Regions from separate parts of the Homo sapiens genome. Here regions 1, 2 and 3 are each linked to region 4. The links are contacts of gene promoters, found by promoter capture Hi-C in human tissues and cell types (Jung and others, 2019). All regions are on one chromosome and are shown on one strand. The core of a region is centred on a gene start or on the middle of the fragment in contact, and the rest is flanking DNA. Distances in the headings are between cores, read along the strand shown. Region 1 has its middle 66 kb from the start of LINC02032. Region 2 has its middle 160 kb from the start of LINC02010. Region 3 has its middle 51 kb from the start of PLSCR5. Region 4 holds the start of ZIC1 (Zic family zinc finger 1).

Region 1 (5,159 bases), core at 296-2,795, 600 kb after region 4:
CATGATGGGTGCCTGAGACAATCAAGGTCATTGTTTCTTTTATGGTTCCATGTTTTAATCTTCTTCCTATAGGGGTATCTGAGATCATTCACTGAAAAATAGGGTAAAATGAAGACTTTGAAATTGTATGGAGAGAGAAAATTCTGAATAACCTATATGGGAATATGAGTATAACTCCTATAAAATGAAATAAAGGAGTAACTTGGAAGTTAGTAAACTAGTCTTTATTACATTTGGGAAGTTCTGTGCTCAACTGTGGTGATTTGGTTTAAATTAGATTGTGTGAATTTCCTTATTTCTGATATATTTGGATAGATGTCAATATTAAATTTAGTTTTAAATGAGAGATTTTAAAAAATGAGTTGATCTTTCTATTTTTAAGAGATTGATAATGCCAGTACCTTTGGCTGAAATGAAGCTGTCTGAAACAAGTGTATGTTTTGGAAGGAAAGTAGCATTTTTGGAAGGAAAGTAGTATCTGAGGGATACATTGAGTATGAGCTTCCTTTACATAGACTTGTTTTGTAAGCTGCTGAGAACAGGCACAGAGACAAAGCCAGTGGGTCACAAATGGTGTTCTACATTTAGAAATAATCAGAAAAAGAAGCAAAATCTATTAAAATGGATGATTTAATAAAACTGCTAAGCTAAAATTGTAGTTATCAAGAACAAAAACGTGAACTTCCGTAATGGGAAGGCAGCAGTCTAAGAAAAGAAAAACAAGAAGAGAGAGAAGATAGTTACGAAAGTGAAATATCAAGAAAGTTATGGTAGACTGCTTTGGAATTCAGGAACTCAACAAAGTGTAAGATTGGGATTCTGGAAAGACCTTTGTATAAAAATGCTCTGGTGAGTAGTTCTGGTAGTGCTGAGGTGGTGAAGAGATTGCATTTCAGGAGTTGGGTAATAAAGGGAAGGAGAGAAAACAGACAATGCTTAGCAGAAGTAGTGTGAATGAAAACTTTTAGCTCTGCTCCAAATAAAGAGCTGACCCTCCAAAAGCATGTGAGAGACTTACATGAAGTTTTAGGATAGTGGAAGAAGCTTTATTGTTACCTTGGTAGCTTCTGGAGAATACAGATACTGGAAGCATAAACTTTTTTTTGGCTTAACAATTTAAAATATTATCTTTAAAATCCTTTGTTTTGTTATATTATGATAATTGCTTTTAAACTTTTGAAAAAAATTATGTGAACATTTTGAGTTGTACAAACATTGTAAAAATTAGTTTCTCCAATTTATAATTGACAAATGTGCTAACACACAAAAAGTTGCAAGTATTCAGCTCTTAATGAAAAAGATTCTTTCTACTTTTAAAAATCAAAAAGTTTGTATAATACGCTTAGACAGAAAAATGTCTTTTCTTCACGAGAAAACTTTAAGTGAATTTTACTTACTTATGCTTTTGTATTCCTTTTTATAAAATATAATTATTCCTTGCTATATGCACTTTAATCATTATTGTATGGCAGCAGAAAGCTACAAACCTACATCTTAGTATCATGGCTCCCCACAAAATTGCCTTTATAGAATGATATACAACAATTTAGGAAAATTTAAAATTATGCCATTACTTTTATCTAGGAGCTATGTAGAAAATATGAACAAAATATCTACATTAAATATTAAAATATAAATGAACAAAAATGACTATAAAAGGATGGCATGCCTTATGTTATTCGTTTTCTTATATTTATGTGATTAATTATTTTTATGAGGGTCATGCTAAAAAAAAAGAAACAGATAAGAGGAAAAAGTAAAATCACAAAAACTTTGGTAAAACTTGTATGTTTTAGATTTGACTTTCCTAAGACAAAATAAAATGAGACATACTCTCTTTTTGTCAAATGAGAGCTCTATGAACCATCACATTTCTTGTTTCTTCTTGGCTCTCAGGAAGCTCAAATTAATATTTTGCTCAAATAACTTTAAATAAAGCATTTTCTTCTGGTATAATTATTTTTATATTTATCTTTAGTACTTGGACTTTCTGTTGTTTCTTGGAACTTACTGGTTTTACATTCCATGATATGTGTTTTTAAGGCCATCAATTTTCTTATGATTTTTTTTGGAAGTAGGCAGAACACAGACAATAAATAATAAGTTGTGTCATTATCAAATCCCATGAAAGGTCAATAAATAAATGCATTTTAGGAAAAATAGTAAGATAAATTGAAAAAGAATCAACTTGCCTTAACTTAAAAGTATGTTTTTAAATATCATAAATGTTGAAAATCAGCTTCATTGATGGAATTTTTATCACCATTAAAATAATCAATAAACAAAAAGAGGACAATAGAATAAACTACTAACTTGAAATGTTCTAGACTGTATAGGACATACAATAAAAATTAATAATATTGATTAAGGTTACCAAGAATCTCCCTGGTCTGGGAAATCTAAAATCCACTTCTTACCCTGACTATGTCATTGACAATTTAGCTGAACTTGACTAAGTATTTACCTTTTGGTACTTCAGTTGTCTCACTGATAAAATAAATAAATTTGACTTACTAATCAGTAAGCCTCCTTCCAACTGTAAAATTTATTTCCTAGAATGTCTTTTGAAGTCTTTATATTTTAGATGCACTATTTTTTGTTTTGTCTCATTTTACTGCTTATAACAATGGATTAAGGGAGGCAAAAAATTAAATATAAAAACCACACAGGAATAAATGAACATAGATTTATCTGCTTTTCCTACTTTTCTTTTGAAAGGGTATGGTTATTGCACTTTAGTGAACTTAAATTCTAAATATTTAACTTCTCAAAGTTTGTAACATTATAACCAACAGTAAGTAATACTTAAAACCAGTTGCATGTTGTCATAAAAGATGGAGACTGGGAGTTTTTTAAGAGGCTGTATGATTTTGACATCTTCCAAAGTTGCATTTTGGCTTGGAAAATTATGTCAACAATGTGTCATAAGAACACACTTTCTTTTAGAATTTCAACACATCTACCCCCAGTAGGAATTAGAAAAATAGAGTTCCATAAAAATGAAAACTATATATTTCAGTATAACCCTTCACTTTTCCTCTTTCAGTTTCCAAAAATGTTTTATTCTAATTTGATTCACATTTGGAGTAATTTGGGAATTAGTTTACTGGATTGTCCACCTCCATTTCAGATTGGCAGCAGGAAAGCATTTAACAACCACAGACTTAAGGCTGCAAAATGAACTATAATTGAAAGAAAACCGAGGATCTGCATCAGCAAAATTTCCATTTTGCTTTACCAGCTGCCTTGGTTTCTTGTTTATGTCCTTTTTTAAGTGTTTGAGTGGTTTTTCTCCTTTGCATTTTTATAAGCTTTGTGCATATTTATAATAATTTTGTCTACCTCTGGCAAAGGAATGGAATCTGAAAGAGCAAGACCATTTTGGCCAAATCACCAGAGAGCTGACAAAAATCACCAGTTTTTATATCTAACACCAGAGAGACTCTAAGTCGCCTTCTCAGTGATAATGTACATCTAATTATAATATCTAAGCTTCATTAACATTTTTAACTATCCTCTAACCTATTGATACAGTTGTAAAGAGGCTGACGGGTACTTATATAGAAAAAGAAAATTACTACTTACAAACACCAAGATGTTAGACCAGTTATTGAAGCAATTGATTTGGTCTCTACAGCTGCAAAATTGATAGTTTCCAAGTGTTAGATTAGTTTATGTAACAGTTGTACAAAAGTTCCTCTTGAGTTTTTCTTATCTTTCTGGGGAAAATATATAATACAACCAGCATCCCAGAGATAATTGTTTAATCGACTCAACAAAACCAAAATTCAAAGATCAACAAACTTGATGAGCCTGTAAACTAAGAAAAAAAGAGAGAAGATGAAAATTATTAAATTCAGAAATGGAAGTGGCACTTTACTTCAAATATTACATAAACTAAAATAATATTAATTGTACACTGACAAATTTAACAACCTTAATAAAATGGACAAATTTCTAGAAACACATAAATTACCAAACTAACTCAAGAACAAATAGAAAATTTAACAGACATATAACACCTAAAGAGATTAAAGCAGTAACCAAAAACTTCTTAACAAAGAAAAGTCCAAGACCAGAGGACTACACTGGTGACTTCTAACAAACATTTAATGAAGAATTTACACCAACCTTTTTCAAATTCTTGCATATAACAGAAGAGGAAAAGACACTTCCTAATATATTCCATGAGACCAACATTACCCTGTTACCAAAGATAGACAAATGTACCAAAATAAAAGAAAACTACAAACCAATATTGATTGTGAATATTGATGCAAAAGTCCTCAATAAAATGTTAGCAAACCAAACCCAACAGCATATTAAAAGGATTATACACCATGACCAAATGGGATTTATTCTAGAAGTGCAAACATGGTTCAACATAAGAAAACAAATTAACACATCATACAGATAGAACAATAACAACAAAAAACACATGATCATCTCAACAGACACAGAAAAACCATTTGAAAAATTGTAATACAGTTTTATGATAAAAGTATTCAACAAACTAGGCATAGAAGGGAATTTTTCAACATTGTGAAAAACTAACAGCTAGCATTATACTCAATAGTGAAAGGCAAAAAGCTTTTCCTCTAAAATCAAAAACAAGAAAAGGATGCCTGATTTTTGCTACCACTATTAAACATTGTGCTGGTAGATCTGGCCAGATCACTTAGAAAATAAAAATAATAATATCCAACCTTGCCCTACTCAGTAGCAGGACTGCAGCATTCTGCCTTGGGTCTGGAGATCACCCTGTCCCTGCCTACCATGGCCAGCCCCAAACATAACACCAGGGGCCCTGAGGACAGATCCACTAAACCTGGATGTTTCCCCCTCCTTACCCCAGTGCTAGAGCACACTATCTCAGGGCCTGGGAACCACGGTGCCCAGTGCACAACAATTGGCACCCAAGCACTCCTCTCAGGAGCCCAAGGTTGGGTCCATTTGATCTGCTGCTACCACCACAATGGGCACCCACCTAGATGTGCCACCTGTGGGCCTGCAGACTGGTCCACCTAGCCCATTACAGCAACTACCAACACCAACATGAACCACTTGAAACCCAGAGGCTAGTCCCACTGCTGCTACTGCTGTCAACCACACTATGCCCACTGCCCAGGACATCAAGAACTTGCCCATTCGCCCATCCC
Region 2 (4,530 bases), core at 1,088-3,587, 640 kb before region 4:
TGTCTAACACAATAAGGATATTTATTGATAATTTTATTTAGTTGGAACTAAACTAGCCGTCACAAAATTGACAAGTGGCCTAAAATGACTCTTTTAAAGATAATACAAATAAAATAAGCACATTACCAAAAACAGCAGAGTAATAGTTCTTTCACTACAAGTTATTTCAGCCACAATGTGAGCTGAAAAAATGACAATGATAAGTAGTGCAAAAAATAAGTTGAAAGTATCAGGATTTTTTGAAATACAGATTTACAACCACTATAATAAATACTGAACTTTATCTAGTATGTATATATTTTATGCTACATGTATTATACAATGGTAAATATAACATTTTCATATATTACTGTCTTTAATACCAAACATAGAAATAAACTAAATTTAGACCCCGGCATTAAAATTTGTTTATTCACAAATATTAAAATATTTTTGAAATCATGAACCATGTCTAACTAACCTGCTCCTAAGAAAATATATAATTAGGGCTAATGCAAGTTTCATTAAAAAAATTGTATGTTGTTCATTAGTAAATAGAAATAAAATAATTGACATTGATTTGTTTCATTTGGTTTACCTTAATTTCTGTGTGAATATTGTGTGATATACATAAAGCAATGTGTTATATAAATCATAGATAAATGTAATATTTATTGGGGTGGTACTTAAAGTATTTCAGTGCCAAGGATTCAAGTACATTTGTGGTTTTTTCTTAAAAGATAAATATCATAGTTTGTATATCCATTGGTAGAAAAAACAAAAATGGTGGAAAGAATACATAATAATGCCAAGGTAAATGGTGAAGCCAGAGTTCAAATTCAGGTCTCTGAATTCTGAGACTAGACCCTCTGCCATTTAATATACAACATCACCTAAAGTCAAAAATCTTAAGTTGCTTTTCAGGACTTCAAATACATTCTGACTATCTCTCCAGCCTTTGAGGTACTTTCATGCAGTTGATAGACTTTCTGGGAAGAATATTATGACAGCAAACAATGTTGCATGTAATGATTTTGGTGATTAGAAGACCTGCTCCTCAATCTACATATATTTCTATTCACACAAAAGATATTTGGGACAGAAAAATTCTTTTAAACCTGAAATTTGGTGCCTAAGTTATTGTCAGGTCACAATAGTGTAAAAATTAAAATGGTCTGGTCTATTTCCATCTTCAACCAGCTCTTTCTATTCAAGAAACATGGAAGTAATAAAACAACATTAAAAGTACGCAATGGGTTTCTTAAAAGTTTTGTTTCATTTTGCTTATCAAAGTTACAAGTCTAATATTAATCCTTTTGAAGCCTAGTAAGTGAAGATTAAAGCATTCTAACATCTATCTATAGGTGTGCCATAATGAATTATGATCCTTACCTAATTCCATGTAATGGAAAAGCTCCAGTAAGTAACAAACTTAATCAGTGCAGTGGCACAGAAGATCAATCTTTGATTCCTATATTCACAAACTGGTTATTTGGTCACATTAGAGAGCAGGCTGAGTGTTGGAACAGATTCCTAGAAATGATGGATGTAATTGTCAAAGCTGCCAGGGTCAATGTATAATGTTCATAAAAGAACCAACCCAATTCAAGCACCTTCCATTTATCATTTATGCAATTTGACCCCTAGTTCTCTTTATAACATATAAAGGAGAAACAACTGCCATGTTCACTCCATTGGAATCTTGTGCACTTTCCACTATCATTCAGGTCACAGCCTTTTTTAGACTGGGGTTATTTGTACATAACTTTCCCTTCTCTGAGGGCATTGGGACAATTAATTGAAATATGGATTTAAAGAAGATAGAAATAGATCCATGAATCTGTATGTAATCGCCATGTTACCATATAGAATGTTTTGAAATCCCCAGTCAGAATCTTTCTGATTCATCATCTACTTACTGTTATAATACACACTCAACTTTGACATTGGCAATATTGTGTTGAGAATTATTCCAATAACCAGCATTTTACAGGTGGGTTTTTCTTATGAAATTTGCACGTGCTAAAGTGTTAGGTGTACAAAAATTTAAAAGAAAACCTCAAATAAATACATATTAATGTCATATATATTTTCAATTGGAGAACAATATAAGGAACTTTTATTTATTTTGCTTGAACAATTGGTCTTCTGTGGCAATTGATGAATTAAATGGACACTATCACAGATGAGTTCAGTTACAATTATACATATTATTAATTCTAGAGTCTTATCAAGAAAAACAGCTGTTTGGAATTCTTGGCTCTTTGTTTTTAGATTTGTGTATTTACAACACTTCCATAAAAGTGTGTTCTTACTGGATATTTGCATTAGAATGTAAGCTCATGAGGACAACGCTTACTCTTGGCCAGATTTTAGATTTCTAGAAGAATGAGTACATTGTAGAGGCTCAGTATTTACTGAAAGAAAAAAATAAGAGAAAGAAGGAAAGAAACAGTAATACAGAAAGGAAAGTGAACAAAGAGTATAATGCATATTATTTTAAAATATGCAGATATTGAAGTGATTTGTGGGGTATTTCCAAAATTAGATATGATTCATTATGATATTATTACCCACATCAATGACACTATTACCCACTTTCTGAAACTAAAGCAGTATATTTCCTAAATTACAATAGATATTTATCTGTTTTAAAAACAGCAAGGTGATCTTACGGAAAATGCAAGTAACGTGAAAAAGGAGCAATCATAACTAAAATGATGTAACATTGAAAAGTGCCTCACTGGTTTTCTTCTTCACTTCAGGATAAGTATATCCTTAAATATACTTCAAAACACTGTAATAAGAAAAATAGCTCTCCAAAACCTAATACTAAATAGAAAATTAGTATCAAGTGACCTAAAATGTAACTTAAATGAAAATGTCACAAACAGTCAACAGATAGTTTCTAAATGTCAAAATAAGCCTGTCACTCTGCAAGAAGCTCAGAGAAGCGTAGTCCTTTCTCTTCTGAGTGTGCAGTTCTAGCAGGCACAGAGATAAATGAGAAATAATAAATGTGATAACTGCTGTAATAGGCAAATACAGAAAGTATACTGAAAATAAGGGCAACAATTTTGACAAACAAAACATTAATAAACAATTGAAACTACAAAAAAGACTCATAATTTTAATAAATTTTGCCTTCTTCATCTCTTCTCAAGAAAACAAATGCCTCTGCTTTATTGGGTGACATGATCATAAGGAGATGTAACAGCTCTGATTTGTATTACTGAATCTCATTTTCCTCATTTGTGAAACACGAGTTTAAAAATCCTTTTGAAGGTCAAATGAGAATATTTGATATTATTGTGTAAACTGTCAAGTGCTACACAAATATTAGTCATTTTTTTCCACAATTGTTTTTAGCATGTGTATGTCACATGGTTAACGTAGCATTCTCATAAAAGAAACCTTGAAATGTCTCTCCTACTCAATTTTTATTTTGCAACTATTTTCAGTCATTATTATGTATGATATGCTTTTTAGGGGCATTTGAATTTTAAAGAGAATAAGTAAAAACTGAAAGGAGAAGGACAATGAAATTATGAGATTACAGTCATAATAATTTCATTGATTAATTTTTCATAGAACTATATTATATTGCTCCCAAAAGATTTTCCGAGAAATTAAAAAATGCTGCACCACCATTTGAAATGGCTGTACAACTGCTGCTTAGGTTAGAGTTAACTTTTTTTTAAGCCTGAAAATACAGTTATATTTTCATATAATAAAATAGGGAAAATAGGATTTTTAGTGCTACTTGCTCTCACCAGAAATAATCATAACCTTTAAACTGTTATTTATGTTAAATTAAATTTTTCATTTTTACTACCTCATGTTTTAGATGAGGCATGTATTTTTTAATGTATTTCCACACTGTTATTGTACCTGTATGATAAACTGCTGACTTACATTCATACCATAATTATTTTTTAGTTTTATTTCTCTGTTCCTAAAGAATCACAGAAGTAAAGAATTGTATTTATGCTTGTATTTTTCAGCAACCTTATGTCAGAAAATGATGCATATTACTGTAGAAATCATATATGCAAGTCCAAAGGGAGATGATGAAAAAGAAAACAAGCTTTAAAGTCTACACATTCCTAACACCGCATTAGGAACTCAGCACTCATAGTGAAATCAAAGAATGATCACACTCAACTCCATCTCAGACCTAGACTGAAATATCAAACTTCAAAAAGAAAAGAAAGTTAAGAACTTTAGGCTAATCAAAATTTTCCAACATAGTTAACATTATTGCTGCCTTCATCGCACTAGAAAACATAAACAAGAATCCAAGTTTTGTATATGCTTAAATAAAAATATTTTTATTTCTATCCATTATGACATATAAGCAAGTAGTAAAATAAAAGCACAATAAAATGATGTATAGAATTGTCTCAGTCTAAAAAAATTCAATTGAGACTATTAATTTTATGAAAACTATAAAGAATTCTTCATGAAATTATATTATACACTAATTTTTAGCATTCTACTTACATTTTACATCATCAACAAATTAAAGGAAACATTTAAACGTTATTTTTT
Region 3 (4,711 bases), core at 321-2,820, 750 kb before region 4:
AAATGGCCTAGGTTTTTTCCACATATTAATTCATTTAATCCCCACAATATTATGGGACAGTACTATTTTGCCCCATTTTATAGAACAATAAGTTAAAGTATCTTGACTAAAGTCATTCAGCTAACTGGTAGCAAAGTTAAGCTTGAACTGCCAGTCTGGCTCCGGAGTAAGTACTATTAACCAGTTTCCTAATGATTCTCAAACTACAGAGTGCACCAGAATCACCTGGAGAGCTTGTTAAAATACAAATTGGTGTGTCTCAAACCCAGAGTTTCTGATGCACTAGGTCGGGGGTGGTGCCTGAGAATTTGCATTTCTAACCAGTTTCCGAGTGTTGCTGATGCCACTGGTTCAGGGACCACCTGGTGAGAAGCACTATGGTATACTATACTGCCTTTCTTCTCCAGGATTTTGATTATGTATAATTTCTTTTACATGTGTGTTCATTCAAATTAATTAAATTACATTTTAAGAAACTGTTTTAAGTACTCAGCTTTTATATTTCAAAAATACAGCATAAGGTCTATCAAAATGAATTCTTCTTGCCTTTTTCTTTAGATTATTTAAGCACGTTAAATGAATAATAAATGAAAGAATTGTCTTATTTGAGCTAAAAGGTACGATATCAATGAAAATCATTTTCTTAGCTATTTGATTACCATTATTTAATTGATACTAGCACTTTCACATTTTATGTTCCTCCTTAGAAACGCTTTAATTCCCAGTTTATATGCTAATTTATGTGGTCAAATTTTAATCCTTGCTATGTTTTTCCATTTTCAAAAGTTTCCTTGAAGTCACTTTTCCCCCCATAGCACATTTTCCACAATTACCTGATAAGTTCTATTTATAGTCTCTAAATTTTTAAACATTGTGTTTAATCTTCCTTGTATATCCTTTATAAAATCAAAGATATATATTTTGGACAGTTTGAAAGAAGATAGAAAATGGAGATAAAAAACAACATTAGAATAGTATAAGAAAATTATGAAAATATAAATTAATGAAAGAACCTAAAAAAAGAAAAAAGCAAAAATACAAATGTATATATTTAAGTAATTCTGAATTATGTATAATTTTTATTTATATAAAATATATATTTGTGTATATATATAAAATGACTGCCTAGATATGCAGTGATTTAGTATACAATGTGTTTTCATGTATTCAGGAGCTGTCATATAAATAGTAGAACATAAGAGTATTTTTCATAGATTCCGCTGTAAATTTAGTTTATGTTTAAGTGAGAAACTTTGATCCAGATAGCCTCAAAATATAAGTAAAATACATAACTTTCAATCAAAATGTATGAAATGGAAACAATAAAGAGCATGTTGGTTTTGCTGATGTTAAGGGTTTTTGTCTGTCTTGAGATTTGAGTAGGAATATCTCCCTCAGGATCATTTGCCTTCTAAAGCATCTAGGGGTTTGGAATCATGACCAGGGAGAGAGATTCCGAAATGCGAGAAGATACTGTAAGAAAAAAAAAAAAAAGGAAAGAAGCAAAAAGTAAAATAAGTGAAGGGAACATGTCCTAATTAAAAACACTTTTCTATCTTTTAGAAGCCCCAAAATGCACACAGATGAAAGCAGCACTGCTTGTTTTATTAGTTGCCTAACCAATCAATACCATCCTGGAAGCAACAACTGTATAAACACAAAGCCTCCAGCAAATGCTTTGTAGAGCCACCTGCACTCTGATCTAAAATGAACCGGAGTGACATTTCAAACATTCTCATGAGAAGTTTTCTACTTTCTCAGGATACAACATTCCACATTGTCCATAAGACTATTGGAATATGTTCAGCAGCATTTTCATTCCAGTATGCACAGTACAATGTTTTCAAATCGTAGAAGATGTGTTTGTCCTTGATGTTGAGCACATAAAGCTGATATTTTGCTGTTACTATTTCAAAAAGATTATTAAAGTAGTTACAACATGTTCCTGTTAAGTACTATTGCATGTATTCCTGATTCATATTTTTTTATTTGTTTTTCTTTCCATGTTAGAGCTGCAACTAACCGAGTTGTGTTTTCTTTAAAAATTTATCTTCTTTTGTACCACCAGGGTTATGTAAAATAGGTCTTTGTATAAACCTAAACCAAAATGTACTTAAAATATTTAGTTAAATTTGTAAATATGATTTTTCCTTTACAATAAAACAAAGACATTATTTATTCATTACTGCAAAATAGCTTAGTCTGGAAATTTTAGTTAGCATTGATTTATAAGTAGTTTTTAAAATAAAAATAGGTAACCATAAATGTCAGTTTATGCTAAATATTGTGGTAAAATTTTGTTCATTTACTTAGTTGATATTTATCACAACAATGTGTGTGGTAAATACTCTCAATATTTCATGAGAAAAGTAGAAGTTAGAAAAACTAAGCGACTTTTCCTAAACAACCAGTAGGTGTTTAAGCATAAACTTGAACACAATTCTAACTCCAAAGCTTAAGTCCAAAGAGGAATTCTTTTACCTCATTGCTATTCTCAATAGCAACACACTGAAAATTGAGTTGATTACCTATTTACTGCGTTTTGGCCCTTTTGTGTATAAGAATTATGTGGTAATTTGTAGAAATAAAAAGTTCACAGTCATTAATGAAAATAAAATCCACAAGAGAATTCTATGGTGATAATTGCATATGTTTAAATTTTTCCTGGGAAGGCAAGTTGAGGGGATGGCAGAGGAAATATGGGGATGGTTAATGGGTATAAAAAAAAAATAGAAAGAATGAATAACACATACCATTGTGATACTATTTGATCACACAACCAAATGACTATAGTCAATGTTTAGTTGTACATTTAAAAATAACTGAAAAAAGTTAAGATGATAAATATTATGTTATGTATATCTACCATTAAAAATAAAAATAACAACAATCTACATTTTTCATCCTTATGCATAGACTTTCATATGAGGCGTCTAAGATTTTGTCGAATATAAAAGAAAATAAGCCTATCAGCTTAACAATACATTTTAGTTGTAATTTTAATACTATTAACTATAATTTTACTTGTATATTAGTTAAGTAGTTATATATTAATAAAAATAGGTTATTTATCTGTACTTCCTGGATGCCAGATATTAATTCATTGATTACTAATACATTAGTAATCAATTCATTAACTCATTGACATTAATCAATTTATAGGTTTAGGAAACATGATAAACATGATGGATGTAGAACTTTCTTGCAGAGTTTATACTCTAGCAAAGGATATATACATGAAAGAAACAAATTATAGAAATAATTATTTAACTATAATTTTGATAAACGTCAGCAAGCGGAAGTGCAGGGTGCTTAGAGAACACTGAACCTCACACATGCTTTTGGGTGGAGGTGAGATTTGGAAAACTTTCCTAAGGGAATAATAGTAAGCTAATATATGAATGATAAGGAGAAGTTAGTTGGTAAAGTGTGAAGAATAATGGAGATCAGAAAAAATTATTTTATTCTAATTCTCTTCAGAAGCATGTACATTTATTGTTAGCATCGTTGAAGGACCAGATTTTTAGGGAGAGACACGAAGCATATAAAATTTTGGAAAGGAGACTCTTTAATAAAAAGAGTGCAGTTTGTACTTGGTTCAAGATGGCTGGCTAAAGACAAGGATGCTAGTTCTCCTCAAAAGTAGTCAAAATGACAGATAATTATTAACTCAAATAGAATATTAAAGAGAAAATACTAGAACTCCACAGAGAAATCATGGGAAAAAACTGCAGCACAGAATAAAAGAGGAGGCAAGAGAGCAACTCTACTGGCAAAGATCACCTAGGAGCCTCAAGGGAGTTGGTATTGCACGGAAAGGGTAAGTGGGAGTATTTTGGTTGCCCTCATCTCTACTGCAGACTGCTGGTACCCAAACTGTGGGGGAGCCTCTCTGCCCTTGCATTCCTGGACTCTAGTGTGAGTGGTGACTTGGGGATTTCTTGAGGGTATTACACCTGACTGTGGACCCTTGCCAGGTTGCTCACCCTCCTTTCAGACTCGAGCAGCTGCAGCAGGGCATCATTTTGGGGGCATGAGAATTGAGAGACTATGTCCTACCCAGGGAACCTCAGATATTGTGTCTCCATATCCAAAAAGATCTCACGAACATTTCTTACTGTCTGTTCTGAGGCAAGCATTGGCACAGTGCTGGTTGGAGCCAAGGAAGCTGCAGGGTTCCCAGTATTGTAGCCTTCTGGGACTGCTACTCCTACTGGAAGGGAAAGTGCAGAGCACCAAGAAGGTAGCCCATGGAACAAAAGACGCCAAAGGGCACACTTTCCAGTGCATTAGAGCTCCCTGCTTGGGGTTGTGAGGGGACAGATTAGCTTCCAGCAGGGGCACAATATCTGCGCTTAGCTCTGCAAGAGAGGCGTGAAATTATATCTTATTGACCAAAGGACCTCTGTGCTAGATCCCAAGCATAGAGACAGGGACTTTTCTTCCCACTCCACCCACTGATGCAGACACAGCCAGTTACTGCTCGCATGGGAAACTGGCACAGGTGAGCCACAGTACAGCCTGTCTGAGGCTGTGAGGGACAACTGTCTTCCCACTGTCAGTGTAGCCTCCCATGGAGTTTGTGTGAAAAGCAAGCCTGCCACCCCGCTATCCCTGCCCCCCACCCCTCTCTGCATAGAGCTGCAGTGTTTCGGCAGTAGAATGCCACAGAGCTATGTGTTTTGCGGGGGCTGCGGAGGAGGATCCCCCA
Region 4 (5,068 bases), core at 2,441-4,940:
CCACTGCTGGCCGCGCGCAGAGAGCAGATCCCAGCAGTCAGCTTCCTGAGGCAGGACCAGGGTGAGGGAGGGCAAGGAGCCGCCCTGAGGTGGACTCAGGCGGCATCTGCCGTCAGGTTGGGGCGGAGAAGTTCCATCGTCTTGCTGCCATCTGGGCTAACTTGGCGCTTTGACCCTGGAGAGGGGAAGCAGAGACTCTCCTAGCCACCCCCTTGGGGGCAGAGCAGAGATACCTCCTGTAAAGGCCCCCTCCCGGCACCCGCCTTGCTCATTTTTCGCGAGGGAAGCTCTGGGCCACGACTTCCATTCTTGTGCCCACGGTGGGGCACCCAGGCAATTCACAAGGAGAGAAGGGAAGGCAGGCAGGCAACAAACTGCTCCTGGTTCCTGTGCCAGTGGGAGCCCCATTTGTACCCCTTTTCCCTCCTCCTGGGAAGAAGGGATGGACTCATCCTCTGCGTTGCCCCTTTGCGGAAGGGCCCCCTCCTCCCCTTAGTGTCAGTGGGGTGGGGCCTTTATCCACGGTTGGGGGAGGGGGGTAGGATGAAGGAGGAGATGGGGCAGAAAGACTGGCTGGGCCTCTTCCCCCACTGGGGTTTGGGTGCCAGTGGTCCCCTTGAGGGTACTTGCTACCCGGTCGCTGGAGGTACAGTTCTCATCTGTCTGCCCCCTGGACTCACGCACTTACCCCACTCCACCTGTTGCCAGGATCGCCTCATTTCTGCACATCATTTCGGGGTGGCTGAGAGGGGACCACAAACCCCTCCAAGCCTCTCTTTTGTGGTTCCAGCGAGGCGGTCATCCTTCACTTCTCCTTTTCCAGCTTTCAGGAAGCAGTTAGGGAATGTATGATGAAGCAGAAATGAGCCGTCAGGATGATATTTTAATGGCTTATATGTCACGTTGGTGCATGTGGCTTTGAACTGGAGCCGTTCGCGTTTCCTGCAGAGAGCGCCGCAAATCCCACTTGATAACTTCTACAACCCACAACTTTTTTTTTTCTCACATTCACTCTTACCCTGTATATTTGGATGTGTTTCCTAAAAATACCCTCTTGTCAACGTCCCCGTTGGATTTTCCACGGACTGGAGAGGAGAAGACTGACTTTTCTTTTTTGAAGAATTATTTTCCCTCTCCCCCTCCCAACAGCTACCCTTCCCCCCTTAGGTCCCCTCCCTTGTTGTGTGTGTGTGTGTGCGCCCGCGTGTGTTTCCTGAAAGGCGGGCGAGGTGGGTTCAATATCTGTTCTCCCTAGTGAGAGGAATACAGCCTCTAGAGAAAACTTCTCCATACAGATGAGGTTTTCTAAACTCCAGGGGAAGCAGGATCCAACTTCCCCTTGTAGGTAAAAAGACTTAGTGCCTCCGATATATCTTTTTTTTTTCCAACCAAGTGTACAATAATTTTTAAAGATACCTCGGCCCTTTCTTTACCTCCACTCCTCATTCCATTCCACTCAAAGTTGGTGGGAAATGCTGGGCTGCTAGACTCAGACTTGTTGATGGGAACAGAACAATTAATTTTTTTTCCGAATTTATATTTCCCGGCACAAGCACAAATGCTCAGCCAGGTCCCTTCAGGCACCGGGAAATCATCCCGGATACCCAAGCCGACTTTTGAGCAAGCACAGCCCATGGAAAGGGCAGTCCCGCCGGCCAGCCCCAAGCGAGAATCTAGTTGGTGAGAAGACCAGAAAACCAGAAAGGCGAGGAGCGGCGGACGCTGACCCTGCCTTCCTCCAGCCCGTGCAGTCAGCGCTGGCGTCAGGGCAAAAAATATATTCATTTTCATTTTCCTCTCGCTGGGGCACGGTGAGTTTCCTAACCGGGCCGCCTATGAAAGGATGAGTTGAGGTTTCTTTGTTTGGAAAAAGAGTTTAGGGCTTTGATTCAGCTGCAAAGAAGCCAAATGAAGTTAGAAACAAAGGGTAAATTGAAGGATTCCGACTCTTGGCTTTTTGTGTTTTCCTTACTAGAAAATAATTAGACCTAATGAATATGCAGACGCTTCAGCTAAAGCCTCGGCCAGGACTGCTGGGTTTTAAACAGAGCTGCGGAGAAATGCAACCTTCGTCCCCACAACCCCCCGCATCCGCGTGCATTTTTTGAAATGCATAAATGTTGCTCGGCTTAATTGATTGAGTCACAGGGATTTTTTTTTCCTGCTTTTAAGTACCATACTCCCCTACCTTTCAACAATCATTTTAATATATAGTCAATGGCTCTTTGTGGAAGGGACAAAAAGAAACTACGCGCAGTTGTTGAATAGACTTTGCGCTAGGCAAAGACAGGTTAATCGAGGGCCGCATCGCGAAAACAAGCGAGTGTTGTATGTTTGCACTGAATCCAAATGTCTGCATTTTCCTAACTAAATCAAAGGGAGTGTTATTTCTTTTTCTGCTCACTCATCTGAAGGTAAGTAAATTTTCTCTGGCGATCAAAAGCCTGGTCGGCAACAAAGACCGCGCCCGCTTTTTCCACCGTCCTGGTGTGGCGAGTTGCGGAATTTCAATAACTGTGACAAGGGTGACTGATTTGTGAACTAGAAAAGGTTTGAATGTCACAAAATTTACATTGGTCCTATCTATTGGGGATTTAAATACCGAAAAAGTATTCGGGGATCTCTAGGGAGCTTTGGGCAGCCCAAGGGAACAATAGCGCGTTGGGAAATTTACAGTTTTACCTGAATGAAAGGGGCCCAAGTAGGGAACAGGAGTGAGGAGAGACAGGGTTAGCGGGGGCAGTCGAAGGAGACAACGGAAAGGCAGAAAACAGAAAAATAACGCAAGAGAGAGAAAAAGTAAAGGAAACTGGCAACAACGTTTCAAATTTGCCATTAAAAAATTCAAACCTCAATAACCTGGGAACTTAAGCGCTTTCATCCACCTGTGTGTGTGAGTGTGTGTGTGTGTGTGTTTTCGGGGAGGGGGGTGCGGTGGTGCCGGAAGTCTGATTAGATAAAAGCGAGAAATACAGAGGCTGCCGGTTACACTGAGAAATTACATTTTTTTGTAAAGAGAGCATAGTGCCCGTGTGCTCCCAAGATCTTAAATTATAAACAGGAGGGGGACAAAGCAAGAGGGAAACAAACTTCAAAAGGAGCAAATAACAAAAGCCTCTTTTGCTGCTCTTGAAGGGAGGGGGGAAGGGGGAAGAAAGAAAAGAAAGTTGCTGAATCGGGACATTCTGGAAGTGCCTTTGCTGTGTTTACTAGCCCCATCCCCGCCTGCTGCACCCGGAGACGTCTGAAGTCTCTAATCGCTCAGCGAAAAGTTGGTTTCGGGAAGGGCAGCGCCGGGGTGCGGGAGGGCAAAGGAGGAAGAGGAATGCATATGACTGTGAGAAGGAAAAGTAATCGTGGCAAAAAAAAAAAAAAAAAAAAAAAAAGAAAGAAAGAAAAGAAAAAAGAAAAAAAATTTCCGTGAGAAGAGGGAAAAAATTTGGCTAAAAAAAAAGTTGCTACTCCTGGCAGCCCTGGTTTGTCAAAAGGGGATGTCAAGCGCTTTACAATACCTGGGATTGATGAGGCGGGCGGGCCAATGAGCTGCGCGCGGCGCCTCGGCGCGCCCTCCGTTGGCGCGGCGGCTGAGGGCGGGGGGAATGCGGGCGCACCAATGGGCGCCAGCGTCGGCAGCACGTGACACCTCCCCCCTGCTCCCATTCATCAAGGGGGGGACGGTGTCGTCCTTTCAATTCATTTATCTGCAGGAATGATTGCTGCTATCAGTCTCGCGCTCACCGCCCGGCTGAGGAGGTGAAAGTTTCTCCCCAGGAAGATAAACCGCAAAAGACAATATTGTGCATGATTTGCGCCTTTTCTTTGGCTTTTTCTTTCTTTCTTCACCCCCCCACCCACTTTTTTTTTTTTTTTTTTCAAAAAGCAGAGAGGGAAAAACGGAGAGTGAAGGAGCGAGGAGGCGAGCGTGAGAGAAAGGAGAGAGAGAGAAAAGAAAGGGCGAGGGGCTAGTGGAGAAGTAAGGAGGGGCGCGCTGCGCGAGGCGGAGAGAGGGCGAAGCAGTCGCGGCACTGGCGCTCACATTCCTCTATGCTACAAATCCAGGAGGAAGTTTTTTTTTAGGGGGCTGAGATGCTCCATGCCTTTCCCCGGGCAGCCTTGACGCGCGGCCCTCTCGGCAGAGACTGAGCGGCGAGAAAGTGCGAGCCGGGCCGGCAGAATCTGCCTGGCGGGCGCTGGAGCCTGCGTTACTCGCGGCCCGCAGCCGTCCGGCTACTTTGCGTTTGGCCCGGCCAGCGCCCGGGCGCGCCGCGCCATTGCCTGCAGGCTAGGACTTCGCGAGGTGGGTCGACTCCCCCTCCCTCCTCCTCTTCTTCCTCCTCTTCCTCCTCCTCTTGTTCCTCCTCCTCCTCCCGATTTTCCCTCCTCGGCTGGCGAGGGTGGGGGGGGCGGGGGAGGCCGGGGCTCGCCCCGAGCAGCCACGATGCTCCTGGACGCCGGCCCCCAGTACCCAGCGATCGGCGTGACCACCTTTGGCGCGTCCCGCCACCACTCCGCGGGCGACGTGGCCGAACGAGACGTGGGCCTGGGCATCAACCCGTTCGCCGACGGCATGGGCGCCTTCAAGCTCAACCCCAGTTCGCACGAGCTGGCTTCGGCCGGCCAGACGGCCTTCACGTCGCAGGCGCCAGGCTACGCGGCTGCTGCGGCCCTGGGCCATCACCATCACCCGGGCCACGTCGGCTCCTATTCCAGCGCAGCCTTCAACTCCACGCGGGACTTTCTGTTCCGCAACCGGGGTTTTGGCGACGCGGCGGCGGCAGCCAGCGCACAGCACAGCCTCTTTGCTGCATCGGCCGGGGGCTTCGGGGGCCCACACGGCCACACGGACGCCGCGGGCCACCTCCTCTTCCCCGGGCTTCACGAGCAGGCTGCCGGCCACGCGTCGCCTAACGTGGTCAACGGGCAGATGAGGCTCGGCTTCTCGGGGGACATGTACCCGCGACCGGAGCAGTACGGCCAGGTGACCAGCCCGCGTTCGGAGCACTATGCTGCGCCGCAGCTGCACGGCTACGGGCCCATGAACGTGAACATGGCCGCGCATCACGGCGCC

The links. Contacts are between HindIII fragments. The study calls those that stand out against the background at their distance.
Region 1: a fragment that was not itself captured here is called in contact with the fragment with the promoter of ZIC1 in region 4 in 2 of the 25 tissues and cell types used here (dorsolateral prefrontal cortex and hippocampus).
Region 2: a fragment that was not itself captured here is called in contact with the fragment with the promoter of ZIC1 in region 4 in 2 of the 25 tissues and cell types used here (IMR-90 fibroblasts and mesenchymal stem cells).
Region 3: a fragment that was not itself captured here is called in contact with the fragment with the promoter of ZIC1 in region 4 in 2 of the 25 tissues and cell types used here (pancreas and psoas muscle).

What each region holds. Positions count from the first base shown.
Region 1 is chr3:148,009,141-148,014,299 of GRCh38, forward strand. No RefSeq gene overlaps it. Among named protein-coding and RNA genes, the nearest start is that of LINC02032, 66 kb to the right of the region's middle. The HindIII fragment of the contact is 3,711 bases long and covers 1-3,401 here.
Region 2 is chr3:146,763,158-146,767,687 of GRCh38, forward strand. No RefSeq gene overlaps it. Among named protein-coding and RNA genes, the nearest start is that of LINC02010, 160 kb to the right of the region's middle. The HindIII fragment of the contact is 7,948 bases long and covers 1-4,530 here.
Region 3 is chr3:146,653,851-146,658,561 of GRCh38, forward strand. No RefSeq gene overlaps it. Among named protein-coding and RNA genes, the nearest start is that of PLSCR5, 51 kb to the left of the region's middle. The HindIII fragment of the contact is 4,052 bases long and covers 1-3,596 here.
Region 4 is chr3:147,405,675-147,410,742 of GRCh38, forward strand. ZIC1 (Zic family zinc finger 1) reads left to right here and starts at 3,691. Exons shown (of 3, transcript NM_003412.4): 1 at 3,691-5,068. The coding sequence starts at 4,439. It overlaps ZIC4 (Zic family zinc finger 4), which reads right to left and starts at 869. Exons shown (of 5, transcript NM_032153.6): 1 at 689-869. RefSeq lists enhancers at 1,685-2,875, 3,298-3,878. The HindIII fragment of the contact is 11,475 bases long and covers 1-5,068 here.